4 separate regions of the Homo sapiens genome follow, and regions 1, 3 and 4 are each linked to region 2. The links are contacts of gene promoters, found by promoter capture Hi-C in blood cells and fetal thymus (Javierre and others, 2016). All regions are on one chromosome and are shown on one strand. Each heading gives the region's core, a stretch centred on a gene start or on the middle of the fragment in contact. The rest is flanking DNA. Distances are from core to core; before and after follow the strand shown. Region 1 overlaps LOC105372932 (a long non-coding RNA gene). Region 2 holds the start of LINC01352 (long intergenic non-protein coding RNA 1352). Region 3 overlaps LOC105372932 (a long non-coding RNA gene). Region 4 overlaps LOC105372932 (a long non-coding RNA gene).

The links. The method cuts DNA at HindIII sites, captures the fragments that hold promoters and counts their contacts. A CHiCAGO score of 5 or more calls a contact.
Region 1: a contact is called between a fragment that was not itself captured here and the fragment with the promoter of LINC01352 in region 2, in 6 of 17 cell types (neutrophils, monocytes, M2 macrophages and 3 more). The highest score is 15.3, in neutrophils.
Region 3: a contact is called between a fragment that was not itself captured here and the fragment with the promoter of LINC01352 in region 2, in 4 of 17 cell types (M1 macrophages, M0 macrophages, erythroblasts and 1 more). The highest score is 7.3, in M1 macrophages.
Region 4: a contact is called between a fragment that was not itself captured here and the fragment with the promoter of LINC01352 in region 2, in 7 of 17 cell types (neutrophils, M0 macrophages, M2 macrophages and 4 more). The highest score is 12.4, in neutrophils.

What each region holds. Positions count from the first base shown.
Region 1 is chr1:221,420,419-221,423,150 of GRCh38, reverse strand. The region is part of intron 3 of LOC105372932 (a long non-coding RNA gene); the gene reads right to left. Among named protein-coding and RNA genes, the nearest start is that of LINC02817, 85 kb to the right of the region's middle. The HindIII fragment of the contact is 6,744 bases long and covers 1-2,732 here.
Region 2 is chr1:220,827,964-220,830,663 of GRCh38, reverse strand. LINC01352 (long intergenic non-protein coding RNA 1352) reads right to left here and starts at 1,409. Exons shown (of 4, transcript NR_110797.1): 1 at 1,222-1,409. The HindIII fragment of the contact is 6,544 bases long and covers 1-2,700 here.
Region 3 is chr1:221,458,992-221,461,691 of GRCh38, reverse strand. The region is part of intron 3 of LOC105372932 (a long non-coding RNA gene); the gene reads right to left. Among named protein-coding and RNA genes, the nearest start is that of LINC02817, 120 kb to the right of the region's middle. The HindIII fragment of the contact is 209 bases long and covers 1,192-1,400 here.
Region 4 is chr1:221,441,109-221,443,831 of GRCh38, reverse strand. All of the region lies in intron 3 of LOC105372932 (a long non-coding RNA gene), which reads right to left. Among named protein-coding and RNA genes, the nearest start is that of LINC02817, 110 kb to the right of the region's middle. The HindIII fragment of the contact is 6,194 bases long and covers 1-2,723 here.

The DNA of each region.
Region 1 (2,732 bases), core at 163-2,662, 590 kb before region 2:
ATAATGTGTAGGATACAGAGAGTTTCCATATACCCTACACTCAGTTTACTTATTATTAACATCTAAAAATATTACGGTAAATTTGTTAAAACTGAGGAAGCAATATTAATATGTTATTAACAATTAAAGTTCATACTTTGTTCATATTTCTTTTGTGCTTATCTATTTTTTTTCTGTTCCAGAATACATTTCATTTATCTATCTTGTCCTTTGAACTCCTTTATATAGTAACAATTTGTTAGACTTTTCTTGCTTTTGATGACTTTGATAATTTTACAGAGTATTTGTCAGTCATTTTGTAGAATGTTCTTCCTTTGGATTTGTCTAATCGTTTTCTCATGGTTAGCGGGTTATGGTTTTTTGGGGAGAAGTAAAATGCTATTTTCATCACATCATTTCAAAGGGATGTAGTATTGACATGACTTATCATTAATGATGTTAACTTTGATCACTTTCCCTCAAGTAGTGTTTGTCAAGTTTCTCTACTGTTAAGTTATTCTTTTTTTCACTTTCTACGTGCCCTTTAGAAGGAAGTCACTATACACAGTTCACATTACAGGATGGAGACTTATGCTCCTTTGGGGAGAGGGCATGAGGATATTTATGCAAATTATTTGAAATTTCTCTGCATGGTAGATTTGTCTCTTCTCTGTTATTTGTTTATTCAATAATTTATTTATGTCAGTATAAACTGATGGATATTTATTTTATACTTTGTGTTATAATTTAATTGTAGGCTATTTATTGCTTTGCTTTCAAATTATTTCAGCTATGACTTTTTATGGATTTTTAAAGTTAAATTTTTTTTTTTTTTTTGAGACGGAGTCTTGCTCTGTTGCCCAGGCTGGAATGCAGTGGCATGATCTTGGTTCACTGCAAGCTCCGCCTCCTGGGTTCATGCCATTCTCCTGCTTCAGCCTCCCGAGTAGTTGGGACTACAGGTGCCCACCACCGCGCCCGGCTAATTTTTTGTATTTTTAGTAGAGACGGGGTTTCACCGCGTTAGCCAGGATGGTCTTGATCTCCTGACCTTGTGATCTGCCCGCCTCGGCCTCCCAAAGTGCTGGGATTACAGGTGTGAGCCACTACCCCCGGCCATAAGGTTAAATATTTTAAAGTTTAAAAGCCATCTTTTGACTATCTACTTCTATTTCATTGCATTGTGACTAGGTAAAATAATCTGTATAGTACACATTATTTATGATGTATTAGTGTTTTTAATATCCTATCAGATGGTAAGTTTTGTAAATAATCCAAATACCTAAAATAACTTTCATTTTCAAATCATTGAAAGAAATTTCCTACGTATGCTGTTAGATAGTAACTTTACTAGATTTTTTTCCTCTTTTTAAAAAATTAATTATTATGGGTAAATAGTTGTATATTTTTATGGGGTACACGTGATGTTTTGGTACAGGCAAACAATGTGTAATGATCAAATCAGGTTAATTGGGGTATCCATCTGGATTTTTTTCTGTTTAATATAATGAAAATATATATACATATATGAAATCAGAAATAGATATAGAACTCTCCCACCACTGCGATGGTAAAAAGTCTCACATTTCTCTTTATACATCTGCCATTTTATTTATATATTTTGCAACTGCATTATTAGAAATATTCAAGATTAGATGTGTTTATTTTCCTTGATAAATTAAAGCTGAAATCTTATGTAGTAGCTTTTCTTTTTTGAGACAGAGTCTCGCTCTGTCACCCAGGCTGGAGTGCAGTGGTACAATCTCAGCTCACTGCAACCTTGCCTCCCGGGTTCAAGTGATTCTCCTGCCTCAGCCTCCTGAGTAGCTGGGACTACAGGCACGCACCACCATGCTTGGCTAATTTTTATATTTTTAGTAGAGATGGGGTTTCACCATCTTGGCCAGTCTGGTCTTGAACTCCTGACCTCACGATCCACCTGCCTCAGCCTCCCAAAGTGTTGGGATTACAGGCATGAGGCCTTTTTTTATCTTTAATAATGCTTTTATTAAAGTCTTACCTTTCTGACAGTCTAAAATTACATAACGTTTCCTTTGATTAGTGTTTGCCTGGTATTTTTTTTCAATAGTTTAATATTTCCTGTGTCCTTATGTTTTAGAAGTATCCATTGTAAATAGCACATGTTGGATTAAAAAGATATATTAGTTTCACAATCTTTGTCTTTGGATAGGAAAACAATTCATATTTATTATGTAACAATATAAGCACATGTATTTCTACTTTACCTTTGTATTTATTCTGCTTTTCTAAGTTTCTTCTTTGTGCTTTTCTTACTTATTTTGTAGTGCTTGGTTTTCTTGGAAAGTGTACATTCTGGTATTTTTAGTGATTACCTTAGAAATTTAGTATGTGTGTACAACTTACCAACATCTATAATTCATTGATATCTTCTCCCTTTAACAGTATAAGAAACTCAAAAAATTTAGATTATCTTTTTCTTATTTTATATATTACTATTGATTAATACATTTCCTGTGTTTCAATCACATGAGTAGGCTCAAATATATATTTTAAAGTTTTTAAAAATTCAATTTATTCTCCATTTTTTTTTAGTTTGTATTTTTTAACAGTATCTTACTCCTCATCTTGCTAGAAATAGAAGTTCCACCCTACATTTCCGATTTTCCAGAGAACTCCTTAAAATATCTACCGGGTTGGCTTTCACAGTACCTATCTGTCACATGATTATGACATGTATGTATTAATTCTCTCCTCCTTTAATGAGAGTCTCT
Region 2 (2,700 bases), core at 160-2,659:
CCAAGGCCACACAGCAAGGTCAAGATCCAAGACTAAAACCAATTGCTTCTCTGTTTTGCTTATTACTACAGCACAGAAATAAAGAAATAGAGAATGGGAGAGGAGAGGTAGGTGTGGGGAGGCGATATGAAAACATGGAACAAGTGCTCTGCTTTTAGAATAACTAGAACTTTGAGCCCAGAAGATTTCTTTTCTTTTAATAAATAAATGTTTTATAATCTTACTTCTGTGGCTGGTGGGAAAAAAAGTCCTTCAAGTCCCCAAGGAATGTTAGGAAAACCTCCATTAAATTCTAGTCTTCAAATCTGAGTCATAATAACTATAATAAACTCTGGGAGTGTTTCCTTAGAGTTTCTCTTTTAGGGTGGAGAGGAGGCAGCAAAAAGAATAGGCAAGTTTTCACAAGAAAAACTTGTAAATAGGCAAGTATAACAAGAAAATGTATAAACCGGGATGGCTTCATAATTAGGCATAGCCTAATTGTGCTTATGTGTCTAGTCAAGAAACTCTATCTAGAGTTCCAGGGGAAGAAGGTGTTGGGGATGAGGGAGTAGGATTGGTTTGAGGGTAGTAGACTATATAAGGCATCATGCTCCTTCCCATGGAGGGGATGTATGATGGTTAATATTAGGTGTCAACTTGATTAGATTGAAGGATGCAAACTATTGTTCCTGGATGTGTCTGTGAGGGTGTTGCCAAAGATATTAACTTTTGAGTCAGTGGACTGGGAGAGGCAGACCCACCCTCAATCTGGGCGGGCACCATCTAATCAGCTGCCAGCACAGCCAGAATAAAAGCACACAGAGGAACATGGAAGGAGTAGACTTGCTGAGTCTTCCAGCCTTCATCATTCTCTCGTGCTGGATACTTCCTGCCCTCGAACAACAGACTCCAAGTTCTTCAGCTTTTGGACTCTTGGATTTACACCAGCAGTTTGCCGGGGGCTCTGGGGCCTTCAGAAGGCTGCACTGTCAGCTTCCCTACTTTTGAGGTTTGGGGACTCGGACTGGCTTCCCTGCTCTTCGGCTTGCAGACAGCCTATTGTGGGACTTCACCTTGTGCTCATGCAAGTCAATACTACTTAATAAGCTCCCCCTCATTTATACATCTATCCTGTTAGTTCTGTCCCTCTAGAGAAACCTGACTAATATAGCATGTGTATGTGCTTTTCCCTTTGCTTGGAATGCTTGTCCCCACTCTGACCCTAAGCACCACCACAACCTTCCTTCCTGGAGCTCAGGCTGTTATCCTCCAGGGCTCTGCTGATTCCCTGGGCACCCCGCACTCTGCTTCACAGCACTCATCACATTTGTCACTTGTGTAATTTGTTGCTTATCCCAGGCTTCCGTATTACATGATAAGCTCCATTAATGACAGTGTTGTCTGCCTTGGTTTTGTTCATGATGAGCACAGTGCCTGGCCCACAGTACCAGCTCACTAAGTATTTAGCAAAGGGCTTTATGAGGTCATCCCTGGCTCCAGCACCTCACAATCTTTATGGTGACTGTTCAGAGGGCAGCTAAGCAGAAAAGAAGTTTTCAACAAGGCTGTTTCTGGCCTGTTTTCCCTCTCAGTACTACATGGCAAGTCACGTCTCCAAACTGAGGAGTGTGCCTGAAGAGTCAGGTCTGGCAGAGAAAGGATTTCTTGCCCTAGGTTTAAACAAGCAATGTCAACATAACTTCCAAAGGCATCGGCTGCTTGGAAGAAGTGAATCCCTTGGGTCATTCCCTTGATTATTGTGAACCCGTGGCTGAGCAGGACAGAAATGTCACACAGGTGGACTGAGAACAAAATGATTTCAGATATGGGAGCCCCAAAGTGGCATCCCAAGGACAAGTGCTCAGAATTGCATGACTTGGTTTTCTGTTGAGCTATTCTGTCTTGGATAATTACAGCATGAGCTCTTGGCCAGTGGTGGGAATTAATTGGTTTTAATTCTCCCGCAAAGATTCTCTTAAGTAAAAGTAAAACATTTGCAAACTGGAGTTCTTTGAGTTATTGGTAACAACTTACTTTGCACCTCATAGCACACTGGTTAATAGCCTCCGCCAAATAACTAATATTTAGGCACTTTGCTAATGTATGCAAAGTGCTTTTAAGTATTATGCTATTAAATCTTCACAACATCACAGGTAGGTATTAGCACCATCTTACCTATTTTATGGATATCCAAACAGAGGTCTTCAAAAGTTAGAAAATCTGCACAGTCACAGAGCCAGTGGAGCCACAGCTGAGGCATGGACAGGCTGCTCTCCTACCACCTGCCAGGCCGCTCTTGCCCAGCTCATGAGGTCCAAAGTTTTCTCAACAAACTGCTTGGTGTCGATGTTGTAACCTGGAGCATTGCCCTGCAGCAGAAAGGCAGGCCTGGACATTCGCATGTCAGCATGGGGCGAAGCTGATAATTTCCAGTTGGGATCCAAGAAAAAGAAAAGCTCTCCACATGCCAACAACATTGTTATGAAGCTCTCTTGACCCAGCTACCCAACAGTGATCTCAAACATTTGGTCTCTCCAGTGTGTGTATGGGGGTGGGGGGCAGCTGGGCGTGTAGCCTTGTACACTTTGCACTTGGAGAGGTAGGGACAGGGGTCTAAATTAAGGGAAACCCTGCCCAGGGGCTGGCTTTGGGAAGCATGCCCAGCAGCCATGTGGAAGTTCACTGCATTACGGTGAATTACACCAGGTGGGGTGAGTA
Region 3 (2,700 bases), core at 47-2,546, 630 kb before region 2:
ATGCATTGCTGGCAGGAAGAAATGGTACAGCCATTTTAGAAAAGAGTTTGTCAGTTTCTTAAAAAATTAAACATATATTCATCACATGACCCAGCAATTCTACTCCTATATATCTAGCAAGAGAAATGAAAACATACGCCCACAAAAAGATAGGTACACAGATATTTATAACAGCATTATTTATAGCAGCCCCAAACTAGAAACAACCAAAATGCCCATCAATGGATACATAGACAGACAAATTGTGGTATAGCCATAAAATGGAATACTATTCAGCAATAAAAAAACAAGGTAATGACACACGTTGCAACATAGCTGAATCTCAACAACATCACGCTAAGTGAAAGAAGCCAGATGCAAAAGACCACCTGATTCTATTTATATGAAATGTCCAGAAAAGGCAACCCATAGAGACAGAAGGTAGTTCCATGGTTGTCAGAGACTCAGCAAGTGGGGATTAATTGCAACTGTGCCCCAGGGAACTTTTGGGGAAGGGAAAGTGTTCTAAATCGGGATTGTGGGGACTGTTGCACAAATGTATAATTTTACTCAAACTAATCAAACTTTACACTTACAATGGGTAGATTTCTGGTTTTTAAATTCGTAGGTTGGTGCAAAAGTTATTGCAATTTTTGCCATTACTTTTAATGGCAATTTCAATATTTCAATAAAGCGATTTTAAAATGATGTCAGGGGAGAAGTGAATAAGATGTATTTGAAAGAAGCAGGAAAAGAAGAATATAGAAGATTCCAGACTCAGTGGCTGGTTTTCTGTGAAGGACAAGTGAGAAGAATTTAAGGTGACTTTGTGGTGATGCTTAACAAATACAAGAATGATACCAAGTAAGTGCTCAAAGAAACAACAGTAAAACTAAGTCTATATGATCCTCTTCATTTTATAAGCAAAGCAACTCTCTTTTTCTAGTCCCTTAAAAGTTTAGGATTGGAAGAAATTTCATGGCTTCATTTTCTTAGCTCTCACCAGAGTCTTGATTCTTTAAAAGAAACACTTCCAGAATGTCTGATACAAAGAAAACTAAGAGCATGTTAATTCTCAGGAAAGGCTCTGCTAGTAAGGGTTATGTTTTATTTTAGGAGCACAGAGGCTAAGATACCTTTAGAAACCTTGGCCCACTGGGGACATAATAAACCTCTTCTTTTTTTAGCCTCTTCCCTGAAGTAATCAAAGCTTCTTCTCACTGTTACATGAGTTAAACAGTACAATATCTCAGAGAGAGAAATTTCTACTTATACATCAGTTAATCCTACCATTTCTGATGATTTAGTTTGGAAGAAAGCTAGCTTTCCCTATGAAGACTAGATTTCAAAAAGGATATTCTTCTAAATTTTTGGTTTTTTGTTCAAGAAAAACTCAGTACCTGACTGCTTTCCCCAAAGCTTCCCCAAGTTAATTTTTCATTAGCCTATGGATGAGTGTAGTCTGACTACAAAGCTACCTAGATGCATTTCTCTACCAATACATTGAAAATAAACTTAGCTTGGAAGATTTGATACAAAATTATTTAGTACAGTTTACAAATAAATAGATGATCTATAACTATAGAGTTTTTAAACATCAGGAGAAAAACATTATATAGGACATAGTTTCATATTAATATTCCCTATCACATAAAAACACTACATATTGGCTCTTTTATTACTAGTATATTTCATGCAATTATTTGAAATCGTACATCATTTTGTTTTGAAATTTATTTTATATTCTGACCAAAAATCAAGGTTGGAAGAAGGAAAAAAAACGAAATGTATTACTAGAAGGTATAAAAACTTCTGTCCTATCCAGATTCATTTTTGAACAAAGGCACACCTTCTGTTTAGGTAGAAATATCCATTTATTCTTCTGAGATGTTGGAATGCTATGGAACATGGTTATACCTGGCAATAATTACCTGCCTTGTCCTTGGCTGGAGGGATCTAGAATCTCCACTTCACCCACTAAGGAGTTACAAGGGTACTTAACTGTTGTTAGTGAGCAGAACCAAATTTTGATTCAAGCCACTTACTAGAAATTGAGCAACAACAAATTTCTGGTCTTAATAATTCCTACATGAACTCTACAAGATAAGTCTTGAATGAAGTCCTACCATCTTCACCCATTTTCTTATCAGGTGACCAGTTATAAGGTCTTGAAAGATAACTATTATTCCTTTACACTGGAATTTTCCTAAACAGTTTGAAAACTATTTTCCTATCTATATGTAACATTTGGCTTTTCTGAATAAGTATAAAATGATAGAAGGAAGCTCTTCTAAGTTTCCCCAACTTCTCTTCTCTTCATAAATCCATGAGTAAGTTACAAATTTTTTTAACGCCTTCAAACATCCAAGAGAAGTGTATCTACCAGTTTAATATGCAGGTATCAAGGATAATAGAATCTTGTAACTTAAGGAACAATGTAGATGAAAAAGTCTCCAAATGCAATCTCTCTCAGGTAACAAGAAGAACAGAAATTTCCAGGTCACTAAATTTGGTGGGAAACTCAAAATAAGGCTTTTGCCTTTAGTTTACAGAAATAAGACTACAGATGTACTTCACTTTAAGAAAATCCAATATACATGGAACTTTATCTAATTCAAGCAATGATTACTCAAATTACAAAATGATTCTTTCCTTCACATGGAAAGTTTCCAGTAGATGTTCGTTACTGATCATTTCTTGAGAGAGAGGCTGGTCAAAAGA
Region 4 (2,723 bases), core at 221-2,720, 610 kb before region 2:
TGAGGAGTCTCCCATGGGGATGATGGGAAGTGTGCTGTTATTTCTTGTACCCTAGGACTAAGGGCAGTAGAAGGGAAATGACTGATCTAATTTTTTTTGGGGGGGGACGGAGTCTCGCTCTTTCACCCAGGCCAGACTGCAATGATTTATCTAATTTTTTTAAAGGAAATTTTTTTAATTCTAATGTGCACACTGCAAATTGAAGCTAATTATTAAAACTTTTGCTTTTTCTTATATAAAATTAAAGCCTGCTTGTTGTAGAAAAGCGCAAAGGTGAAAACTTCACCCAGGAACACCTACAGTGCTCAGGCAGGTAATCAAAATATACACAAAGTGAGTAGGTCCTTGGAGAATAGTGTAAAGAGGGGTAACAGAACAGAAAAGGTTAAGTGAACAAAAATGTCCAGAAGTCAAACGCAACCTTAAGCTGTCAGTTTGTAATCTCTCATTTAAAACCATCATAATTTCTTCAGTCATAGACTACCGCTGTTAAAAATATAATGTGGGCTGAGAGCGGTAGTTCACTCCTGTGATCCCAGCACTCTGGGAGGCAAAGGCAGGTGGATCACGAGGTCAAGAGATCCAGACCCTGGCCAACATGGTGAAACCTCGTCTCTACCAAAAATAAAAAAATTAGCTGGCCGCAGTGGCACGTGCCCGTAGTCCCAGCTACTCGGGAGGCTGAGGCAGGAGAATCGCTTGAACCCGGGAGGCGGAGGTTACAGTGAGCCGAGATCGTGCCACTGCACTTCAGTTTGGTGACAGAGCGAGACTGCATCTCAAAAAAAAAAAAAAATGTAATGTGTGTTCTTTCAGTTCTTTACCTATACACATAATAGTATGTTCATATATGTTTAACTTTGTAACAGAAATGATAACCTAATGAACATTTTTTCCTAGGTTAGTTTATTTAATATACCATGAGCATTGTTTCATAAACACACTATTTTAATGGCTGCACAATTCTTTTTAACACACGCCTTTATTCAATGATTTCCTCTTTGGGGACATTATGTTGCTCTCTTCCAAATGTGCCTAAATGTCCAAATAAACATCTGAAAGTCTTTGAGGTAACCTGGTTCCAAAATGGTTATTCCTATAGCTTTTCACTTAGATCTGTGTGGACCCTTGAAAGCTGGGTGGTCTCTTAGAGGCAGAAGGTTCCCAGAACCTGAGGTGCTGTCTGGTCTGGGATTTATGAAATCAGCGTCTTGCTGTTTGTTAACACACAAAGTGTGTGCTGATGGAAGGATGCCACATCACATTTATGTTTTGTCACCAAACATGTAGTGTTTGATTAAAAAATTGGGAATTGATCAAGCATGGAAAACATTAACTTACATTTTACCTGAAGTTTTCTTGATATAACTTTGAATTTTATTTAAAGTAGAATAAAAATGTTCCCATAGCAAAGTACCGTCACTTCAAATAAACCTTTTCCTTTCCACTTTCTCAGCAGAACCACTGCAGCAATTGCCAGCTATTTGGTGAGTCCCTTCTCTCTCTGCTCCTAATCTGCTCCTCATTGTTCTGAAAACAGTTCCATGACCATGTCACTCTTTTGTTCACTGACCATCAATGGTTCCTCACTGTTCACAGAATAAAGCTCCATTTTATAGATAGGCATTCAAGGCATTTCACTTGAGGCTCTAAACTGCTTTTGCCACCTCATTTTCCATGTTCTCCTTCATAAATTGTTTGCTATAGTCAAACTGACTAATACGAAAAACTATCTTTAACCTCCGCCTGCATGTATTAAGTGGATTTTCTTAAATACCTACAACAACCCTGAAAAGTGCAATTGTTATTTTTAGTCTGTATATGAAGAACCAGTGCATAAGGGAAAGAGGTAGGATTTGAACCCTGAGTTTTTCCACTATGCCCATTTTTTTCCATTTTTTATTGTGGTAAAATACACATAAAATTTACAGTTTTTACCATTTTAAGTGTACAGTTTAGTGTTACTAAATACATTCATAATGCACATCCATCACCCCATCCATGTCCATAAATTTTTGTCCTGTAAAACTAAAATTCTATACCCATTAAACAATGACTCCTCTTTCTCTCCTCCCCTACAGCCCCTGAAAAACACCATTCTATATTCTGTTTCTATGACTGTGATTTCTCAACTATATCATGTAAGTGGAATCATGCAGTATTTTCTTTTGATGAGTAGCTCATTTCATTAGCATCCTGTCCTCAAGGCTTATCCATGTTGTAGTGTATGGCAGGATTTTCTTCCTTTTTAAGGCTATTTTGTTTATCCTTTCGTCCACTGATGGACATTTGGGTTGCTTCCTTGTTTTGGCTATTATGAATATGGCTGCTATGAACATGGATGAAGTAAATATCTCTTTGAAACCCTGCTTTTGGTTATAGACCCAGAAGTTCCCACTAAGCCCTTTTGCTTTGGATTCCCTACGCAGAGCCCTCTAATTGGACTTTTACTTTCCTGCCTTTGAGCTTTTCCTTTTACTGCGCAGCCTACCTGGCCTGTCCTATTTTGGTTCCCTGCCTATTGAAGTCCTGTTTATTCTGCAAGGCTCTTCTATTTGTACCTAGCCCAATGCCTTTCACACAGTAGGTGCTCAATAACTAATATATAGTTAGATATATCTTTGCCATATCTGTGCTAAAACAACATAAAAAGGTAGGAGGCAGAAATGATGTCTTATTATCCCTTATGGCCTGCACACAGTAAACAGTTTAGGAAAAGTTTA